Regions from separate parts of the Homo sapiens genome. Here region 1 is linked to region 2. The links are contacts of gene promoters, found by promoter capture Hi-C in blood cells and fetal thymus (Javierre and others, 2016). All regions are on one chromosome and are shown on one strand. Each heading gives the region's core, a stretch centred on a gene start or on the middle of the fragment in contact. The rest is flanking DNA. Distances are from core to core; before and after follow the strand shown.

Region 1 (5,206 bases), core at 1,225-3,724, 1.3 Mb after region 2:
TTAGGCTCACAGAAAGCACTGAAAAATGTTATTATTAATATTTTCGCCCTAAAATCTCCAACAATAAACCAAATTCTGACTTGCTCTGGCTCCTTTTGGACTAGTCTAGAGGCAAAGAGACAAACTATATGATTTCTCAAGGAGTTTTTCTGCTCAGAGGCTTGAGTCTGGGGACTCCACACAATATTCGAAGACATTCTTCCTTCTTTCTGCTGCCTTGCAACCTGCAGACCTCCCACCTGTGTTAAATGAAGAATGCTTGAAGTGAGGTTACTCAGAACCCACCCGGTTCATGTTTTCTCAAGGGTAGAAGGCGGGAAGAAATCTGTTGACACAGTTATATAAAGCCTGTCATTCAGTCCCCTGCCTATTACCTCTGCAGACCGTTATGCATATTAAAGAAGGGGGGGCGGCAAATACAAAAGAAAAATAAGAGAGACGAGAGAGAGAGAGAAAGAGAGAGAGAGAGAGAGAGAACGAACAAATCAGGATGCTTGAGGGAATCCACGTGGTCGCCAATCTGTAACTGATCAGAGCAGCTACACTGAAGCAAAAACCCCAGCGCCCAACGCTAAATATATTGCAATGGAGAAACCGTCCACAATGGGGTGTCTCTGTCCTTAGCAGAGCCTTGGGGCTGCCGTTTAAGACCCTCCTGCTACTCCCACCCTTTTAGCATCTAGTAAACCACGCGCTGTAACAACGGAATCTTGTTCTGTGTATTGCGTTGTGCGAGTGTGCGCTTTGCAAACCATCTGGGCCCCATCCTGCGCGGTTGGAACGAAGATCGATTCGGGACGAGTTGGGGGAGTTGAGGCTTGCCTGTGTCTCCTCCCTTTCATTGCTCCTCTCCAGCCCCCATCCCATCGTCCGCTCTGCACAAATGTTTCGCCAGTGGAGGGACGTAGGTTTTCAGCACCAGGAGGCTGTGGACCTTCTCTGGAGGCGTGAAGTGCACCCTCCGGAGGGCCAGAGCTGAGTGCAACCTGCTCACAACGACCCTCTCCCTCCTTCCCAAATTCGCCGCCCCAGGCTGTAATATTACATGCAGTGCGCTGTACCGGTGCGGGAGTCCAGGAAGGCTGCATGACCTTCCAGCGAACTCCCCCTCGGCTTGGGGGATGGAGGCTGCCCCGGGGCCTGCAGGCTGTGTATCGATCCCCCAGCCTCAGCCAACGCAAGTTCTCCCGACACAAACCCCTCCCTACCCTCTCGGCTTTCCCAGCCTTGCAGGCGTCTAACGCTATGCTCGAGGCGCCCTCCCCTCTTTCCCGCAATAAAGTAAACCCGGTGGATATTCATTCCCCTCCCTAACTCGCCTCCTTCTTTCCCCCTCCCCCCTCAGCTTACTAACCCCGCGCACAGAGCTCGCCGCCGGCGGGCCCCTTCCACCCAGTGTATCATAATGCCCAACGCTCTCCTCCTCCCCCTCTCTTAATCAGAAACGTGCTCGCGAGCCCCCCTCCCTCTGCGTGCATACATTAGGGTCTGCTTTGCATGCAGCGGCAGGCAGAGACCGGAGGAAGAAGGGGCGGGGGCGCTTTTGCCCGCCTCTTCCCTCCAGGCCCCGTTAGCCACCCAGCTTCAGCTTCGTTGTAACACCGCGTCGTTAGCGGAGCACGCCGTGGCCTCAGTGCCCGGGCTGGAGAAACACAACCCAACTCCCTGCAGAAGGGCACGAAAGCCAGACGAGTGCACAGTAGAGCGAGGAGGTGGCAGGAGACCTGCCACTCGGTGTGTGCTTTTTGGAAAGAGCTCCAGCATGAAAATGGGAGGGGCTCCTTTTTTATTTTTTAAAGTGCGTTCATTGAGGGCCTTTCTGTTTTGCATATAGTAAACTGGGCAGCGCTTCTGTTTTGCATGTAGTACAATAAGGGCTCTTTTATTCTAGAAGCGTTCAATTCGGGCTAACCCATCTTGTATCCGTGCCCTGGGGCGGAGGAGAAGGCTCACTGCTCCCCGACCCAGCCGCCGCGTTATACTGGAAGCTGCTCTCCCGGGCTGTTCGATTCCCAGCGCGTCCCGGGAACGTGTGTAATCGGCCTCTCGGCGCTCAAGGCTGCAGGCGGCCCGGCTCCCTACGCCTCCATCCTCCGCGTAGTCCTCGCCCCCTCCCCCTCTCTCCGGAACCCGCGCTCTGCTCCGGGCTCCCGGGCTTCCTTCCCCCCTCCTTTTCCCGAGCAATGCCTCTCCCGGAGGGCGGGGCATGCAGTTATCCAGGTTGCGGGGCCGGCGGGCGGGCAGGAGGCGGCGGCCCGGGCCTCGGGATGGAGTTGCAGCGCCCAGGCGTCAGAGGCGGAGGCCCGAGGCCGCTATACAGATTGCGGGGCTGGCGGGCGCGGCCCGGCGCTCTGCATAGCGGCCGGCAGGGTGCAGGCGGCCGGGCGGCGCAGAGCTGGTTAGGCAGGTTCCGGGGCCCCGTGCCCCCCCCTCCGCCTCCCCGCCCCCCTGTGTTGTCGCCTCTCCCTCTCGCTGCTTCACTTCACGGGGCGAACATGGCGCACAGCTGTCGGTGGCGCTTCCCCGCCCGACCCGGGACCACCGGGGGCGGCGGCGGCGGGGGGCGCCGGGGCCTAGGGGGCGCCCCGCGGCAACGCGTCCCGGCCCTGCTGCTTCCCCCCGGGCCCCCGGTCGGCGGTGGCGGCCCCGGGGCGCCCCCCTCCCCCCCGGCTGTGGCGGCCGCGGCGGCGGCGGCGGGAAGCAGCGGGGCTGGGGTTCCAGGGGGAGCGGCCGCCGCCTCAGCAGCCTCCTCGTCGTCCGCCTCGTCTTCGTCTTCGTCATCGTCCTCAGCCTCTTCAGGGCCGGCCCTGCTCCGGGTGGGCCCGGGCTTCGACGCGGCGCTGCAGGTCTCGGCCGCCATCGGCACCAACCTGCGCCGGTTCCGGGCCGTGTTTGGGGAGAGCGGCGGGGGAGGCGGCAGCGGAGAGGTAAGGGGGCGAGGAACCCCCAGGTCCGGGGTCTCGACCCTCTGCGGAGCCCCCTCCCCTCCCCCATCCGGGATTGAGGAGCATCCCAATTCTGGGACCATCTCGGGGTCCCTGACCCGGGGCGAATGGCTCTCCCATCTTGGGACCCCCATGCAGGGCTGCAGACCCCCAGGCGCCCCCACCCCGGGGTTTGGGCCCATCTGGCTGAGGGCGTTTGCCCCCCGCTCTCCTCCCCCTGACCCTTCCCCAAATCCCTTGGCACAGACCCCCTCGCCGGGGTTTCCCATCCCGGGACTGAACCCCTCCTCCCTTTCACAGATTACCTCATCCGAGCAAGATTCCTCCCTCCCTCCCTCCTAGAGACCTGATCCCGCCACATCCCCGCCTCCCTCTCTGGGCAGATGTGTTACTCCTAGGGCAGTTTTCCTCTCGGGCGTCTCTCGGGTGATGGCCTCATCCAGGGCCACGTTCTCCTGGCCCTTGGGGATCGTGTCCCTTCCAGCACCTTGCTTTCGAAAACCCGATGAACCCTCGCGCCATCCCCGGGCCAGGTCCCTATACTGCCAGCCACTCCCCCTTCCTTCACCTCCACCCTCTACCCCCACCCCAAGCAGACCGATCCTCCCCCATCCCGCCCTACCCCACCGGGGAAAATCTCTCCTCTGCACCTTGCCTGGTCTCACCTCCTTTCCCTCTGAAGATAACGGTGATTCCTCATACAGCAGTCTCTTCCCCCCCCCGCCCCGTCTTACAGGGCTACAGTTTCTAGCCTATTGGTAGCCGGGAATTACTCTACCTTCACTCCACCCTTTCCCTCCTTTAGAATGAAGGATTAGTGGCATCTTGGAGGGGAAAATAGTCCACTGTCCCCTAGGCTTAGAGAAGAGCAGCTTTCCACCACTCCCCTTGGAGAGGAGGCAGGCTTTCCCTCCAGCTCTGGGGAAGGGGGCCCCTGTGAGGGGAGGTGTTTGTTGGGGGACTGAGGCAGCATCCTCCCAGGGGAAGCAGCTGCTCTCCTACCCCACCCACTGCGCCTGAGAGCACGCAGTCTCCAACCCGAGCTCCCTCCCGCCCTTCTCTTCTCGTCATTTCATTATTGATCCACCTTTTCCTAGGCCAATCCTGGGGCTTGGAAGGGGTGGGGGAAGCCAGGTTGGGGTGAGGAGAGTAGATAAGGGACAGTTATACTTTAGTGTGGTGGCGGTGGTTGCTTTGGGATGGGAGAAAAAGGATTATCAAGCAAAGTTATTCCTTAGAAAGGACTTGGGGTTGTCTCTGATTCTTGTAAGGGGACCCAAGGTGGATGAAGGGTCAGAGCGTTGCCCCTTCCCCATTAGTACTGGGGCAAGAACGGAGTTGCTTCTATAAACATTATTCGGCCCCCTTCAGCAAAAAGGAAAGTTGCCCAAGGAAGGGAAGTTGAGTTCAGGTTCAGCCAGTGGCGTTGCGCATTTGTTTTCCATTGGATGCAGAAGGGGGGAGTTCGAATTGTAGAGGGGGGAGGATGGCATGGGGGATGCTAGGAGGAGGAAGAGCAGCTGCTAGGGGCTGAAGCGAAGGGGGGTAGGGGGTTGCTGCTCTGGAGTGCTCTTGATTGAAACAGAAAGGGAAAGATAACAACCAGCCGTTTCCTGCGTGCTCTGCCGTTGGTGCACACAAAATATCCTGGGCAAACCCCTTGTCCCCTATTGTGCCCCGCACCCCTTTAGATTTACGGAAAGATCCTGGGAAGAAGGGGAGGGAGGAGATCCCAAGGACCCTGGCCCCTCCTTTCAAGGAGCTGGCATTTTTTAGTTGTTAGTCTTCCTGCCTCCTTTTTTTTAATCGTTTCTAAGGCAGCCTGATCAGGAGACTGACAACAACCCGCCTTCTGACAGAGCAAGGAGGACATGATGGGGGCGTGTTCCTTGCTATGTAGCTAGCTGCAGCGTCCCCTTTCCCTGCCTCTTTCTGCTCTATCTCCACCTCCTTTTCCCAGCCTTCAGAAGGCAGCTGCAGTCAGCAGGGTTGTTTGAGACTATTTATTGGTTGCTGTAGATTATTATTTTTTTTTGAAAGGCCAATTCTGTATTTTTTAAGCTAACAACACAGATCCCATGTAGTTGGAGAACCAAAGGCCACATACATGACAAAAAGACTGAACCGTTCAGGTTACTTGCATGGAGTTGGTGCTTAAATGTGAGTTGATTTTGCTTTTTTAAAAGATACAGCAGCAAAAAAAAAAAAAAAGAAAAAAAAGAAAAAACTGACATTTCATTTACCTGCTTATTTTCAAAATT
Region 2 (5,139 bases), core at 1,651-4,150:
CTTGAAGCCAGGAGTTCAAGACCAGCCTGGGCAATGTATCACGAGTGTTTCTTAATGTTTCAGATTATTTACTGGCAAGATGAGCAGGATTACCATGAAAGAAAAGTCCAGATGGACTGAGGAAATCCTACACTGATTCTCCAAACTTGGCAGCTGACTGCATGGAGGGCTCATGATGAAGAAACCTCTTTTGCCATCCTGAGGATTCTCTGATTCATATTCGCCTAGATGTGCTGGAAACAGTACTGGACCAAGGTGCAAACTTGAGTCTAGTGAGGTACTAATGGGCTGAAGTTTTTCTGAGCGTCACTTTCCTCATCTGTATAATGAGGGGTTGGCCAAGGAAACCCATAAGGTTATCTTCCAGCTGACTTTCTAATTGGTGAACCCTTTGGAAAAGGGGTGCAGCTTGCTTCTGGTCTTCATCCTCAAGTATGCTGTGCTTGGACAGGGGCCAAAACTAATTCCTCCACTCACCATTTGCCCAGCATAACTACAACAGTACCTGGCACATCGTGGATGCTTATTAAATATTTATTGCAGGAATGAGTAAATATAACTAACTGATCATAAGGTAAAATAGTCTTCATTGGAACAAGGCTCCAGATAGTTGGGCAGGGCTGGGAGCTGAGACTGCTGCAATCCTGCCAGCTGAGAGAACTCTGACAAGGCACTGATCTGGGTGGCTTTATTAGGATGTCTGACAGCTTCAGAGGTGGCCACATTTCTTTTCCTTTAAACATGTCTAATTTGGCCGGGCGCAGTGGCTCACGCCTGTAATCCCAACACTTTGGGAAGCCTAGGTGGGTGGATCACTCGAGGTCAGGAGTTCGAGATCAGCCTGACCAATATGGTGAAACCCCGCTTTACTAAAAATACAAGAAATTAGCAGGGTGTGGTGGCGGGTGCCTGTAGTCCCAGCTACTTGGGAGGCTGAGGCAGGAGCATCGCCTGAACTCAGGAGGCGGAGATTGCAGTGAGCTGAGATCACACCACTGTACTCCAGCATGGGTGACAGTGAGACTCCATCTCAAAAAAAAAAAAAAAAAAAAGTCTAATTTGTCTTATAAATGCAATATATGTGGCCAGGCATGGTGGCTCATGCCTATAATCCCAGCACTTTGGGAGACTGAGGTGGGTGGATCACCTGAGGTCAGGAGTTCGAGACCAGCCTGACCAATATGGTGAAACCCCGTCTCTACCAAAAATACAAAAATTAGCTGGGCGTGGTGGCACATGGCCTGTAATCCCAGCTACTCGGGAGACTGAGGCAGGAGAATTGCTTGAACCCAGGAGGCAGAGGTTGCAATGAGCTGAGATTGTGCCACTGCACTCCAACCTGGGCAACAGAGCGAGACCCTGTCTCCACCCCCCGGCAGATAAAAAAGCAATATATAAATATATATACATTGTAGAACATTTGTAAATCTTTTTAAATATAAAAAATAAAATTTAAGAACCACTCACAATCCATTATTTTTTATTTTTTGGTACTACTCTATATTTTTAGAATTAAAGGAAAATGATATACAATATGTGTTATTTTTAAAATTGTAATTCAAAGATAACTACTGCTAAATTTTATTTTTAAAATTTGCCCTGCTTTCTGGAGACATTGCTAAATGTTTAGTACAATTTTTTTCTATTTTTCTATGCATGTCTATATGCATTTGGAATATATACGGTTTTATTTACTTATTTATTTTTGAGACAGAGTCTTGCTCTGTTGCAGCCCAGGCTGGAGTGCAGGAGCATGATCTCAGCTCACTGCAACCTCCGCCTGGTAGAGTTAAGCGATTCTCCTGCTTCAGCCTCCCCAGTAGCTGGGATTACAGGCACGCGTCACCACGCCCCACTAATTTTGTATTTTTATAGTAGAGATGGGGTTCACCATGTTGGCCATGGCTGGTCTCGAACTCCTGACCTCAAGTGATCTACCTGTCTTGGCCTCCCAAAGTGTTGGGATTACACGTGTGAGCCACGGCACCTGGCTCTATATACTGTTTATTTAGTGTCATATCCTGAATTCTCTGCTTACGTGTCCTGTGAAGTCTTAAGCATCATTTTTGATGCCTTCATGATAGTGCATTTAACCAATCCCTCATTATGGATATCCAAGTCATTTCCTTTTTGCTTTATATTATAAATATCACAGTGATAAGCGTAGCTGCCCAGGTATTTTTATCTGTGCTTCCTATTTCCTTAGGATAGAGTCCAGAAGTGGAATTACTGGATCAAAGGGTATAAAGCTCTCTAAGTTTCTTGAAACAGTGCCAAAATATTTTGTAGAAAAGTTTTCACCAATTTACACTGAAGGTCAGTATCTTTCAATGAGTTTTGTAACTGTCTCTGAGAGAAGAGGGGAAACAGCCCGGCAAGCTTGGAAAGCTCGGAAGGCCGTCCCTGCAGTTGTGTGGCCCCTCTAGAGGGAGGTGGGAAAGGCATGGGGATTCCTCCTGCAGTGCTGCCTCCGTTTCCCCTCCGCCGGTAGGGCCACCGTCCTGTTTCCTAATCCTTCGAGTTTTTCATTTTTTAAGATCCCCGGAGAAAAAGTGGCCCAGGGTTGGACGATGTTAGTTGTAAAGGTGGTGGTGGGGGTGGGGGAATCCTTATGTTTGAGCAAATGTAAGAGTTGTTCAGCAAGAACCCAACACTTGGAGATTGTTAACAGAAACATCTGCCTATTCCAACGTGAGTTTCAGAGATGGTGAAAATCACGGGAGAGAGTTGGGTAGGAGTTGGAGAAGGCATTGCAAGCTTTCCCCTTCAGCTAGACAGCTGCAGCCCCTTTAAGGGCAAATGCGGGACCTGGTCCTTTAAATCTGTGTCAGTTTCCCCTGACGTCAGCGGGCGGGCCAGCAGCCCTGCTGTTTATCGCCCAGCGGCGCAGCTCACTTTTCAGTGTTCGTGCGTCGGGACGGCGCGTCCGCCCGCCCTTAAAGGGCCCGCACCTCGGAAAACTCGCAGCCCAGCACGGCGTCGGGTAGCTACCACCTATCACGCCCCTCACTCTGCGACTCGCCTTCCTCCGCGGCCAGCCCCCGCCGCCGGCTCTTCCTCCCTCCCCTTTCCCGGCGTCTCCAGGCTCCCGGCAACCAGCCGCCCTCCTTCTCACGGCCCTGGCCCGGGGCTCCAGGGTCTCAGGTCGTACTCAGCCCCTCGCGAGCTGGGACCCCTTCCCGTAGCCAGCATCCCCTCCCTCCCCGCCCCCTCCCGGCCGCCCCCTCCCCTGCGGGGACCCTGGGAGCCTCTTCGGGGCTCTTGGGAGGGGACATTTCCTAATCTCAGGCCGGGGTTAAAGTTCTGGTCCTGGTGAGATGCTGGAAGCTGCGGCCGCAGCCGCAACCCGTCCCGGAGGTGTCCTGTCTCCTGTCGCCGCCGCCGCCGCCACCACCGCTGCCACTGCCGCCCTGCCGGGGCCATGTTCGCTCTGGGCTTGCCCTTCTTGGTGCTCTTGGTGGCCTCGGTCGAGAGCCATCTGGGGGTTCTGGGGCCCAAGAACGTCTCGCAGAAAGACGCCGAGTTTGAGCGCACCTACGTGGACGAGGTCAACAGCGAGCTGGTCAACATCTACACCTTCAACCATACTGTGACCCGCAACAGGGTGAGGGCTGGGGGCTTAGGGGCCAGAGGCGAGTGGGGAAGCCGACGAGGGCTAGGCGATTCTGCCGCCCCGCTACCCTTTTGGGAGGCCCCAGGAACGAGCTGTCCTGCTAGGTTCCCAGTTCCCAGAACCACACTGGAGCCTCTTGACCAGTCCTCCTTCCTTTGCCACCAATGTTTCTCTGAAGCTCCAGCTGGGCAGTTTTTGAAGTTGGCTCATTCCCATCTTCTCTTCCGCCCCCATTCTTCCATCAGTTGTGGTCTGAGCACACATGGCTTGCTCTCTACCCTAAACCCCAGAATCTGACAGCTCTGTGGGGTCTCGGTGGGAGAGGAAACAGGCTTATTACTGGGCTTGCCCAGAAAACCTCAGGGGAATGAGACTGGCCCAGAACTGAAAAGCTCTGTGCAGGCAAGTTACATCTCAGACTCCCCAGGGAGATGAATGCAGGGCTTCCCAGCCCTCTTCCTGCCTGGGAGAGCCAGCTGGCCTTGTAAATTGAGGGTGACAGAGGTTTTATAAGGCCAACTGCAAGTTGGGTGGGAAGAGAAGGGGAATTTGTCCACTGTGAAAAATCCACTTCACCCTGACTTCTCTTTGGTTTCTTCACCAGCTGTGAGTCCCTGAGTTGAAATAGACACAGCTAGTGTGGGAAGTCTAGACCCCAGGCAGAGCTGAGATTGGGAGAATTCTTGCAACCTGGCTGTGTGGTCTCGTGCCCGGGTCTCTTGCTCTCTCTCCATGACTGCCGTTTACTGAGAAGCAATGGAGTTGAGAATGGGGAATCTGATTTTTTTTCAGAACGGGGAGTGGTTTGGTTTCTGTGGCAGGCCAGGATCTGCCCCCAGTGCCTGGTTCTCTGAAGTTTGATCTCTTTCTGCTTAGAGTCCTTTCTTCCTTTTTTCCCATATCTAAAGGCACTGGAGAGCTGTGGTTTTTACTCTTTTGGGAAATGCTGCCCTAGGGCTTGGGTTTCAGCAGCCCAATAACAAGCATTCCAAGATCGATTTGGTTTTATTTTTCCTTTAAGCTCCCATTGTTTATATATGTTCCTTCATAGCTCCAAGGGTGAAGATCACTTTATCTTTTTTTTTTTTTTTTTTTTTTTGAGACCAGTCTCACTCTGTTGCCCAGGCTGAAGTGCAGTTTTGTGATCTCAGCTCACTGCAACCTCCGCCTTCCCGGTTCAAGCGATTCTCCTGCCTCAGCCTCCCAAGTAGTTGAGATTACAGGCGCCTGCCACCATACCCAGCTAATTTTTGTATTTTTAGTAGAGATGGGGCTTCACCATGTTGGCCAGGCTGGTCTCAAACTCCTGACCTCAGATGATCCTCCTGCCTTGGCCTCCCAAAGTGCTACAAGCGTGAGTCACCGCACCCGGCTGTCATTTTATAGAGGGAGAAGTTGAGGCTTAGAGAAGTAAAGTGACTTCTCCACAGCCCTGTCCCTTGGTGGGAGCTAAGGATACAACATGGCCTTCAATACCTACCCCTCCTCAACTCCTCTGGGCTCTGGCCCCAGGTTAGCTGTTAACT

Evidence for each region. The method cuts DNA at HindIII sites, captures the fragments that hold promoters and counts their contacts. A CHiCAGO score of 5 or more calls a contact.
Region 1: the fragment with the promoter of KMT2A here is called in contact with the fragment with the promoter of SIDT2 in region 2 in 1 of 17 cell types (monocytes); the score reaches 6.9 in monocytes.

The regions. Positions count from the first base shown.
Region 1 is chr11:118,434,018-118,439,223 of GRCh38, forward strand. KMT2A (lysine methyltransferase 2A) reads left to right here and starts at 2,475. Exons shown (of 36, transcript NM_001197104.2): 1 at 2,475-2,927. The coding sequence starts at 2,496. RefSeq lists enhancers at 1,447-2,444, 1,644-1,783, 2,445-3,443, 3,444-4,441 and a silencer at 2,094-2,573. The HindIII fragment of the contact is 8,732 bases long and covers 1-5,206 here.
Region 2 is chr11:117,175,843-117,180,981 of GRCh38, forward strand. SIDT2 (SID1 transmembrane family member 2) reads left to right here and starts at 2,901. Exons shown (of 26, transcript NM_001040455.2): 1 at 2,901-3,604. The coding sequence starts at 3,422. It also overlaps a transcript of PAFAH1B2 not described here. RefSeq lists a silencer at 3,000-3,209 and an enhancer at 4,190-4,259. The HindIII fragment of the contact is 6,932 bases long and covers 2,756-5,139 here.